Linked DNA regions of Homo sapiens: region 2 is linked to region 1. Evidence: promoter capture Hi-C in human tissues and cell types (Jung and others, 2019). All regions are on one chromosome and are shown on one strand. Each heading gives the region's core, a stretch centred on a gene start or on the middle of the fragment in contact. The rest is flanking DNA. Distances are from core to core; before and after follow the strand shown. Region 1 holds the start of MEIS2 (Meis homeobox 2). Region 2 has its middle 58 kb from the start of SPRED1.

The links. Contacts are between HindIII fragments. The study calls those that stand out against the background at their distance.
Region 2: a fragment that was not itself captured here is called in contact with the fragment with the promoter of MEIS2 in region 1 in 1 of the 25 tissues and cell types used here (dorsolateral prefrontal cortex).

The regions. Positions count from the first base shown.
Region 1 is chr15:37,099,142-37,104,485 of GRCh38, forward strand. It overlaps MEIS2 (Meis homeobox 2), which reads right to left and starts at 1,408. Exons shown (of 12, transcript NM_170675.5): 1 at 314-1,408. The coding sequence starts at 325. LOC124903465 (a long non-coding RNA gene) reads left to right here and starts at 107. Exons shown (of 2, transcript XR_007064581.1): 1 at 107-288; 2 at 660-5,344. RefSeq lists silencers at 130-189, 2,639-2,778 and enhancers at 1,249-1,408, 1,659-1,938. The HindIII fragment of the contact is 11,980 bases long and covers 1-5,344 here.
Region 2 is chr15:38,192,338-38,197,830 of GRCh38, forward strand. No RefSeq gene overlaps it. Among named protein-coding and RNA genes, the nearest start is that of SPRED1, 58 kb to the right of the region's middle. The HindIII fragment of the contact is 3,468 bases long and covers 1,682-5,149 here.

The sequences.
Region 1 (5,344 bases), core at 158-2,657:
AGCGAGGCGAAAGCGTGTAACGATTGCACACGCACACACACACACCACTCACACGCACTCGCCGCCCGCCCGCTCGCACAGCGCTGGAACACGCGCGCCCAGACACGCACACACGCACGCACACACACTCGCACACACGCAGAGGCACGGGAGGGAAAGAAGCCGATGAATAATTTTGCTATTTTTTAAAATACTGGCCGCCATCATCAAGCAGCGAGCAGCAGCAGAAGCGTTGAAGGGAGAGGAGGCATCGGGACAGGCCCCTCTTAGGAGAGGATTTATATCTAGGTAAGTGTTGGAGATTTAAACCTACCCTTTGCGCCATCAGTCTGCGCTCCAATAAACTCCTGGATGTGTCGTATATTTAATATCCCAGTCCGGATAAGAAAGTGATCTAGGCTGAAGATTCCTTTTTTTTTTTTCCAAACCAAAGAGACTTCTCCCAATTCTCCAATATGCTATTTTTTAGGGGGGAAAAAAAGCCCAGTCTAGACAACGAAGAATTTTTTTTTCTGTGATATTTCTTCTTTTTCTCTTTTTTCCTCTTCTTCCTCCTCCTCCTGATCTTCCTCCTCCTCCTCCACCTCCTCCTCCTCCCCCCTCCCCTCCTCCTCCTCTTCGGTCCTCCTTTCCCCCTCTTTCTCTTCTCTTCCCCTCAGTTGGAAAAAAAAAGAAAGAAAAGAAAAAGAAGAAAAAGAAGAAAAAAATTGTCAAGCCCCCGAACTGAAGGTTACGAGCGGCCCGTCAGCAGCCCACATGTAACCGAACTGTCGTGTTTCATGGCTTTTTGCCACTCCAGCTGTCAATCAAAGCCCGGAATGTCAAGGTAGTGAATGAATGATGGTTGATGATGATGAAGAGGAGGAATCTTTCAGACCCGTTTTTTTCTTCCAGTAAAACTCCGCGAGGGGTTTCTGCTTCTTGAATTTTTTCCTCCCCCCTCCCCCCTTTTTTAGCTTTGCCCCCGCGGTATCTATAATACGATCCTCTCTCTTTAAAGTATTGTTCAAAGAAAGCAGTGAGAAAAATCAAGAAAAAAAAATGAATAGTTTGCAAAAATTGGACTTCCTCCCCCCCTTTCCTGGTAGGTATTTTGTCTCTCCCTCTCTCTCTTTCTCGCTCGCTCGCTCGCTCTCACTCGCGCTCGCTCTCTCGCGCTCGCTCTCTCTCGCTCTCTTTCTCTCTCTGGGAGATGAGTGAGTGTCAGTAGGTGTTGGCAGGTTGGCTGCTGCCTGGCTTATTGAAGAGCCTCAGTTTGGCGGCGCGGGTCGGCGGCGGGAGAACGAAATGACGGAACCCGGAAGTCGTGGTGGCCATAGCCCGTCGTACGGCGGAGACACATCCCGGGAGTGGGGAGCGGGAGCGAGGAGGAGCGCGCCGCGCCGAGCCTCTGATATGCAACGAGTGCGATCGGACAGCCCCGGCTGGGGGGGTGGGGGAGGCGGGGGGGCGGGAGGGGGAGGGGAGGCTCGAGCCGGGCGGACCCGAGCAAATCAGCAAGCCTGCTCCTCCACGGGGATGGGGGACGGCGGGGGGGAGGAAAAGGAGAGTGTGTCTGTGTGTGTGAGTGTGTGTGTATGTGTGTGCGTGCGCGCGTGTGTGTTGCGCGCGCGCGCGCGCGAACAGGGAGAGAGGGAGAGGGGGAGAGAGAAGAGGACAGGGAGAGCGCAGAGAGGAAAACTGCAGAAAACCACAGGGAAAGTACGGTACCGCCTCAGATCTTTTCATTTAAAAAAAAAAAAAAACTTACTTCTAGTTCATTTTCCCATCACTCCCGGCTCCTGCCTAACTGGGTCTTGCCGGGGACGTTTGGCATGGCGCTCTAGCTTTTGTTCCTTTTAATTCCGCGGCCTCCCTCTCCTCTGCCCGCCGATTACAGCACCCCGAAGGCTTCCTGCTAACGTCCAAGGGCAGCAAGCTCTGCAGACGGTACCACTGCCGGGCTAAATTTTTTATTAAGTGGCACTTTCTTTTCTGCGCAGATCCAGCAACCTTGTCAATACTCATTTTTTTCCAGGACCAGAAGAGACCAGCTTAACTCAGAGCACACTCCCTCCAAGCGGTGCGGACAAGGGGCCACCCCGAGAGTCTTTGGGGGCCGCGGCGGAATCGGGAGGGAGGAAGTGAGGAGGCAGTCATCTGGGTCCGATGTAGCCAAAGGCGTGTGTGTGTGTGTGTGTGTGTGTGTGTGTGTGTGTGTGTGCGCGCGCGCGCCCGCGCGCCCGTGCGCGCGCGCGACTAGTGTGCGTCTCCAAAGTGGATCTCACTCAGAGCTGGGAAGCACAGGAGGAAAAGACGGAGAGAGTGGGGGAGAAAGAAGTTGCCGGGCGAGGAGGAGTGGCCGGCGCTCACAGCCCAGCTTTGTTGTGGTCGCCCGAGGCGCAGCGGCGGGCCGCGGTAACGCCTGCTAATGGCTGTGTTAATTACACAGGGGCGATTTCGCGGGGTCAGGGAGATGGGGCCAGCTCCGAAAGAACTTTTCCAAAAAGGAAAAGGAAACGAAGGGAACTACCCCACACCGTTTGGGTGGAAACTAGTTGTGGCCGGTGCCCTGTCCTCCCTGGCCCGAGCTGCACCAGGCTTCACCTCTGCGCGGCTGGTTTCCCGGCGGCCGCGCGTCAATCACTACGAGCCCGGAGTTGGGGGCGGAGCCACGGTCACCCCGCGCAAGCCTTGCCGCCCAGCAGCCCCCATGCCCCTCGGCCCCTTGTGGCGCGGCCGGGCGGACAGGCGCTGGAAGCGCGTCCTCTCCCCAACTTCTCGCTCTCGCCCTCCCAGTCCCTGGCCCAGAGAGTGGAAAGCGGACTGTTGTTCTCCAACAGCCGCATCCCTCCCCAACTTTGAACCCATTCTGAGAAGTGGAGAGTAGTGTCTTCCGCGAGCCGCGTCTAACCGACTTTCCCGCGGAGGGAGGGTGGGATGGGGGAGGTTGATTAGAGAGAATAAAGTACTCTGTGTGTGTGTTGTGTGTGAGAGAGAGAGAGAGAGAGCGAGAGAGAGCGGGGAGGAGGGCGGGTGGGAGGGCTCTTTTTTTTGGCCCCCGTTCCATGTTCCCTGCTTCACTGTAAGCTTTCGAGCAACAGAAACTAGGCTAAGATTGCAGCCTGCAGAGACTCCAAGCGGAGTCGGAGAAATTTGGCCTCGTTTTAATAGGGCTGAGGAATGAACTCCGGAGGTCAATAAAGCCCTCCAAAAATGATGAATGATTGAGCACCTGTGATGATGATAGTGATTACCAGAGCAATTAAACAGTTTGATTAAATGAGCCATCATAACAATGATGTCTGCGGGAAATCGGCCCTCACATATAAAGAAAGATAGTGCGAAGGGGCTGGCAGAGGCGCGGATAGCGCGACGCCAGGGAGAGGGGCTGCGGGCCGCGAGGTTTCTGCCCAATGGCCCGAGCAGGGACGGCCAGACTCACGGAGCTTCAGGGAGGAGAGTGTAGCCCAGGTTTTCAGCCACTCTTTTTTGCCGGGCTTCAAGCCTGCTAGAGCCGACGGGTAGGAAATCTGAAGGTTGGGGGGAGGGTACTTCCTCCACGTCCTCTTTTTTTTCCTAGAAGAACTCCAAGATTAAAAGTATCCTTATTTGTTGCTGAGTTGCTCGTCGACATTTAAGAGAAGGTGAGTAAAAAAGAAAAGAAGATGAAAGAGAAAAGAAAAAGTTGGTCTCCAGAATTTTATTTCAATCGACAGTTACGCGAATTCAGTTTAGCCGGGACCGGGAGGTTTGAGAGTGCGGCGGGGTGGGGAGGGGAAAAAAACAAAAACGCTGCGGAGCGTTTTCGACTTTGCAAAGCTGTTGATGTTGGTGGGTCCAAGTTCCCGGTGCAGCGCCGCTGGCTGAGAAATTTGTACTCAGTTTTTACTCTTCTAATTATTCTTAAATTCAATTTAAGAATTTAAGTTTATCGTCGCCAATAGGATTATTGTTGTTTTAAATGTCTTGTTCAATAAGTGCCAGTTACGTTTCTTTTTAAAAGAAATTCCTCAGTGTCCTTGATAAACCTTTTTTTGTAAAGATCAACTTCATGCGGAACCTCTGCCTTGCAGGGTTTAAACATTCAACATTGCTACCTTCTGTTTCTTTTTCTGTTTTTATAGTGATACTGTAAAGTGAGTTAGCATCTCTATAGCTTTCATTTAGAAAAACTTAAGTCGCATTTTTAGAAAAATATTCCTTCCCTTGCAGTGTGAGTAAAAACAACTCAGACAGATTGATGATTTCTATATTTTCTTTTCTTTCTTTATCTTCTTTTTCTTTTTTTCTTTTCTTTTCTTTTTTTTTCTTTTTTTTTGAGACGGAGTCTCGCTTTGTCGCCCAGGCTGGAGTGCAATGGCGCGATCTCGGCTCACTGCAACCTCCGCCTCCCGGGTTCAAGCGATTCTCCTGCCTCAGCCTCTTGAGTAGCTGGGATTACAGGGGCGCGCCACCACGCCCGGCTAATTTTTTGTGTCTTTAATAGAGACGGGGGTTTCACCATATTGGCCAGGCTGGTCTCGAACTCCTGACCTCCTGATCCACCCGCCGCGGCCTCTCAAAGTGCTCGAATTACAGGCGTGAGCCATCGCACCCGGCCGATTTCTATGTTTTCAAACAATTGTAAGCTAATAATGAGTTGATTATCTGGTGATAATCTTGGGTTTTACAAAAAAAGAAAAGTTTAAACTTTATTTTCATGTGTTTTTATCAGATGCAGAAGGCATTTTTAACCTTAACGCCTTTCTCTGTCTCTCTCTTTCATATTCTTAACTTCTTTTGCATTTTATTGAATACATTAAAGCAAACAACAGGAACAATATGGTTAGGTGTAGGAGGGAGAGAGAAATATGACATTTTAAGATATTGTCAAAAAGTCATATTTAACTTCAACGACTTTTAGTTAAAAAAGTGTGAGAGTGTTGAAAGTGCATTCCTACTGGAGGAAATCTATGTCTTTTTAAAATTTGCCAGTTGTCTCAGGGGAGAACCCAGAATTTCTTTGAACGAAAGAGATCTTACTGATCTAGTTGCATGTCACTTATGAAACTGTTAGTTTAAAATAGCAGTCCTAGTGTAGTGGATTACACATGAGGAGATCAAGTTGGAGTCGATTCAAGGTATTGGTTCTTGGTCAGTCTGCTGAATTCAAAACACTATTACCTTTAATCAGCAACTTGCGGGTGTTTTATTAATAGAGCTGAAAAAGGCTCATCTAACATATAAGAATTTCCTGGTTTCCCTCATCCCCAATTTTCCAGTCCAATAGAAGCGATTCCAAAGGAGTAGGGTACCCGCACTTACTGATTTCCATCCTGGTGGCATTTTGCTAATGCCCCATTGTCAGCGTTGGCACTCCCAC
Region 2 (5,493 bases), core at 2,166-4,665, 1.1 Mb after region 1:
CTAACAGACTGCTTGACTAGATGCTCAATAAATATTTGTTGTATGAATAAAGGCAACACCTTGTCTGGACAAGACAACTGGATTAGTACCACTTCACAAAGTCCTCTAGAACTTAGTGCCTTAAAACAACAATAATCATATATTGTCTCTCATGGATTCTGCAGGAATTCAGAGTGGCTTAGCTGGGTGGTTCTGGCTGGGGAATTGCATGAGGTTACAGTCAAGAAATCAGCCAGGGCTGCAGCCATTTGAAGGCTTGAGTGGAGTTGGAGGAGGCATTTACACGGTGTATCTTCCACATGCAGGCTGTTGACAGAAGGTCTCAGTTCCTCCCCATGCAGGTGTCTCTGAAGGCTATTTAAGTATCCTCACAACATGGCAGCTGGCTTCCCCCAAAAGTGGACAACATAAAAGAGAGCAAATGGAAGTGGTGATATTTTTTATGGGCTATCTTTAGAGGTCACAGATCATGACTTCTTGCCACATTTGGTGTGTTAAAAGTGAGTCGCTACCTCTGGTGGACATTGAAGTGGCAGGGAATTAGACTCCAGCTTTGAAAGGAGTTGTGTCAAAGAATTTATGGACATGTTTTAAAACCACCAAATAACCCATTAACAAATTAATGGATAAGGAGATGAGGAAAAATTTGATGTCATGACTCAAAATCAATTTTCCCAGTTTTAGAATAGAGAAGCAAAAATAACTCCACAATAGTTTAAGAGCACTATAATAAAAAAAATCAGACAGTAGATTAATATTTGGGATTACTTCTTTACTTTAATACCAACATGGATTCAGAAGTAAAATGTTCACAAATGCTTTGACATCTGAAAGCATCCTGGAAAAAAAATTTTTTTGACCAAATCCTGGAAGGTCAAAGGCCAATGGCCAGCACAGCTCTGCAGAAAATATCAGTGAGTAAAGTAAGGAATGAAACAATTGCAAAATAATAGCAACTTCTATCCTTGCAGAGTTTACAGTCTGTCCACTCATTGATTGCAGGGAACAGGAATATAGAATTTTGTTTTCTGCTGATTTATATCAGCCATACATCTGATCCTAGGATTGGAGAACTGTGCTGATAAAGGGCAAGGTAAGAATTTGAAAAAGGCATAACTTATACAAGCTATTGTAATAGTACCATCATACGTATTGCCAAGCAGAACTTTAGCACAAACCAAGATCCCTTAATCACTTTTTGTGAAGAAGAGGTTAGTATCAGTGTCCTGGCTCCCAGTTAGGGCATATACTGTCTTGTTAAAAATCTCTTGTTTTAATTGAGTGGTGCTGTCTCCTTCCCTTCCTTTCCTGGGCCATTTTTGAGCACGGAAGAATGGTTTGTGAACCATGTAAATAATAAATAACCCATGCCACACCACATTCACATAAAAAATGGTGGTGACTCATAGTGGCAAGAAGTCCAGTTTTAAAAATGTGTGAGTATGTTTGTATTTCTTTTTCATCTGAATTCCTACAAAGTAAAGATTTCACATAAGTGATTTTTCCATATGACAGAAACTTACTCCTTCAGGCACTCACACATTGTTATTTAATTTTAACTATTGTTAATGGAAACATTTGTAAAATACCATAGATGATTCTACACTTTTAAACTAAGTATGCTAAACTTCAACCTTTTCTTGATGATTCTAGATTCTCTTCATGGTTATCAAAAGTTGTTCTTTATTTTACAAGGCAATGGAAGGCCAGGTGAGGTGGCTCCCTCCTGTAATCCCAGCACTTTGGGAGGCCAAGGCGGGTGGATCACCCGAGGTCAGGAGTTTGAGACCAGCCTGGCCAACATGGTGAAACCCTGTCTCTACTAAAAATTAAAAAAAAAAAAATTAGCTGGGCATGGTGGTGCACAGCTGTAGTCCCAGCTACTTGGGAGGCTGAGGCAGGAGAATTGCTTGAACCTGGGAAGCAGAGGTTGCAGTGAGCCAGGATGGCACCATTGCACTCCAGCCTGGGCAACAAACAGTGAAACTCCATCAGGCAACATAATACAGCAGAAAGTTTATTGAATTAGAAATCAGAATGACTTCATTGAGTTTTTTAACCTCTCTGCCACACAGTTTCCTCATCTGTAGAATGGGAATATTATCTTCCCTGGAGTTCTCTTTGTTGATGATAAATATTAAATTATATAACACATGTAAATATTATCAATTATTAAATATTAAAGTGTAGACACTGAAACAAATGACTGTTTCAGCCCAAGAAGTGTTACATGGCTATGATTTTGGTATTCTTGTGTTTACTGTACCTGCATCATGATTCCCCAAAGCAGTTAGATTATGTCTAAAGTTACAGCAAATAGATCCTGAGTAAATGGATTCTACTTTAAAAAAAAGAAAAAAGTCTTACTTTTGTTCATATAGGTTTTATTTAAAATTCCACATATTTTTGATATCTGGAGTTCTCTTTTGCTTATTTTTTCCTTCTTTGCTCTTTTTGGCTAGTTGAGTTTGATAGATGGGAGATTTCTGAGTCACTGAAGTTTTATAATCTGTGTAACTTTTTTCAGCATGAACACAAATGCCATGAATATTTAATGTAATATTTCCCATGTTGACTGTTTCTCAAAATAGATCTAGGTATATAAAAATATGGCCAATGCTGACATATTTTTTTCAGTGTGAGTACAGCCACTGAGATCAGTATAGCCACACACCGTGGCCTACGTGGTTAAGTTTTCCAAGCATTTGGGGAAAGTGTTACATTGACATAGTTCTAATATTACCATCAGGCTTTAGAACATGGATTCCTAAGAAACCATAAGTTCAGCCAGCCACATTATAAACAGAGTAGATGGCACTGGGGGCATTATCCCTCCAGAGTTGTTGCATAAAGCAATGTGTCTCTCTTCCAAAGAAAACCCTTAACCTCACCTTCATAATTTCATCACAGAGCAAAAGAATAACTGAGCTACAGAAAATGCAGGCTCCAAATTTGACAGTGGTTCTGAAAGTCATTTCAGGCAATGGCTAAAGCAGTAGTTTCTAAATGCTGGACTGTGGCCGAGGGCATCAGACTTAGCTGGCAAACTTATTCCTAGCTCTGACATCACACTACTGAAATCAGATCTTTTGGAGATGAGGCATAGGCATCTGTACTTTCAACAAAACATCCCGGTGATTCTCCTGAGCAGGCCATATTTGAGAATCACTGGTCAAAATTAGGTAATTGAGATTGCCCCCACTCTGCACTATCTCACAATTGATAGAATGCTCCACAGAGAGGCACCGGACTCTACCATTCTCCCCCGTCAATAAACACTCATCTAACAATAGTACTCTGATTTCTATTCCTTCACCAACTATTTACTCAGCTCTTACCACATGCATTGTGATGGCTGCCAAATTTACAATAATGAATAAGGCAGAGATGGTCTCTTCCATCCATGAGCTCAAAACCCAGCGGTAGGAGGAGGGGGAGGTGGTGTATTACATATTAAGCAAATAACCATTAAAATTTCTGTATATCATGAGTGCTATAAAGGGAAACAATAGAGTGTTTGAGAAAGTATGACTAGTGTTCAACTATTAATGGATATGAGAGTTGTCAGAGAAGACTCCATCAAGAAATAACATTCAATTTGAGATTTGAATAATGGGCATCGTTTAGGACTATGAGCAATCCAAGATTAACAGCAGGTACACGTACCCTGCTGCAAGAGTTTCACTTCTTGCTTATGCTTGTTCTCAAATCGGAGTCTCGGATCCACTGAACAATGTGCCTTAAGGCAGCTTAGGAAAAGAACAGTCAGAATGAGAAGGAAGTCCACAGCACCAGTGGAGCCCATTAAGAAATCCCAGACCTGGATGTTTGTTTATTGTCAGTTTCCAATCTAGGGGTCTCTTAATCAGATTTTACATAGTTTAATCTAAAACAGTGGTTCTCAATCTTGGCTGTACATTGGAATCTCCTAGGAAGCTTTTAAAAATTCTGATGCCTTGGCTTCACTCCTAGAAATTCTGATTTAATTGGTCTGTGGTGTAGTCTGAACATGAGGGTTTTCTAAAGCTTTCCAGATGATTCTAACGTGTAAACAATGTTGAGAACCACTACTTAAAATAGGAAAATATTATATCTAAATTTATCAACAAGGAAAGTCAAAGGAGAGTTATAACAATCTGTGTGTTTTATATATCCCTGTTGGAAAGTGAAGAACAGCTGCTAAAATTGAACCTTAAGTCACTAGCACACCAACCACTAAAGATGGCCTCATTGACTCTCTGCTTCACATACAGATGACTCTCTTCAGCACCTGATTTGCTTTTATGAGGCAATCTTTTACATCTATGGCTGTGTGTGCTGGGCTAAGAAAGAAGATGTACATGAAAGTTAGCAAAATATCTTTTCCCTCAGAAAATTTGAAGTCCATTTGGAAAGACAGGACTAACAACAACAAAATAATAAAATGAATACAGTTCAAGGTACTAGTTAAGACAACAGAAGTTCAAGAAATGGGGGCAAGAAAAGCTTCACTGAAAGCTGGGCTGATCAAAAGAGACAAGAATATATAGGATCTAAGTGATACGGGAAGAGCAGAAAAACCAAGGCAAAGCAGCAGGAATAACCATGGTAGAAAAAGAGAATAGGGAAGAGACCTGCCTCATCCCCCACAGTGGGAGTTGAGAGTAACAAGAGATCAGCAATCTCTCCTGCTGAAGTTGGTCAATGACCAGCAGCCATTGTTACATCTTGTTTTTCAGAGAACCATTCTTCTTAGGCATCTTCCTTCATAATGAAGAAGGGTGGTTTCATTTTTCCATTTCCTTCTGTAGGAAAGATGACTAGCCATTGATTTCCAAATGTTTAGATGTCAACAGCCAGGTTTTACAATTTTTAGTTTCTCATAGATCCCCTTGTCCCCCTGGGCATAGGTAGGTAGAATAATCTCTCATATTCAATCTCTCAGGTATAAATTTCTCCAGATGACATACACAAAGGGGAATAAAATCATAACTATTACATATTATGTGCTTACTAAGGCACTGGGGAACATGAGGTAACATACATTATCTCGTTTAATCTTCACCACATTTCATTAGGAAACTATGATTCCCCATTTTTCAGATGAAAACCATGATGCTCAGAAACAGTAAGAGATTTGCCCAAGTTTGCACAGTAAGCAGTGGAACTGGCACTTTCACCCAAGTTTAACTTGTAGGTACTGCCTTTTAAAAATTTTATAACAGACAAGAAATTAAGATTCTTGGTATTGCTTTACTAAATCCAAGACCTCAGCGATCACTGTGCAGCAGAAACATCTGTGGCACTTTTTTTGACTATAGAAGTTTGGACCATCCCCCAACCCCACCTCAGAACAACTGAGAATCTCCAAGGCAGGGCCTAGAAATCTATATTTTTTAAACCCCACACATGATCATGACGTACAGCTTGGATGGAGAACAATGGGCCTATTCAGTGGCAAGGGCTGGGAAACATTTGTGTAGCTTAAATGCTACTTCCTGTGCTTATATGCCG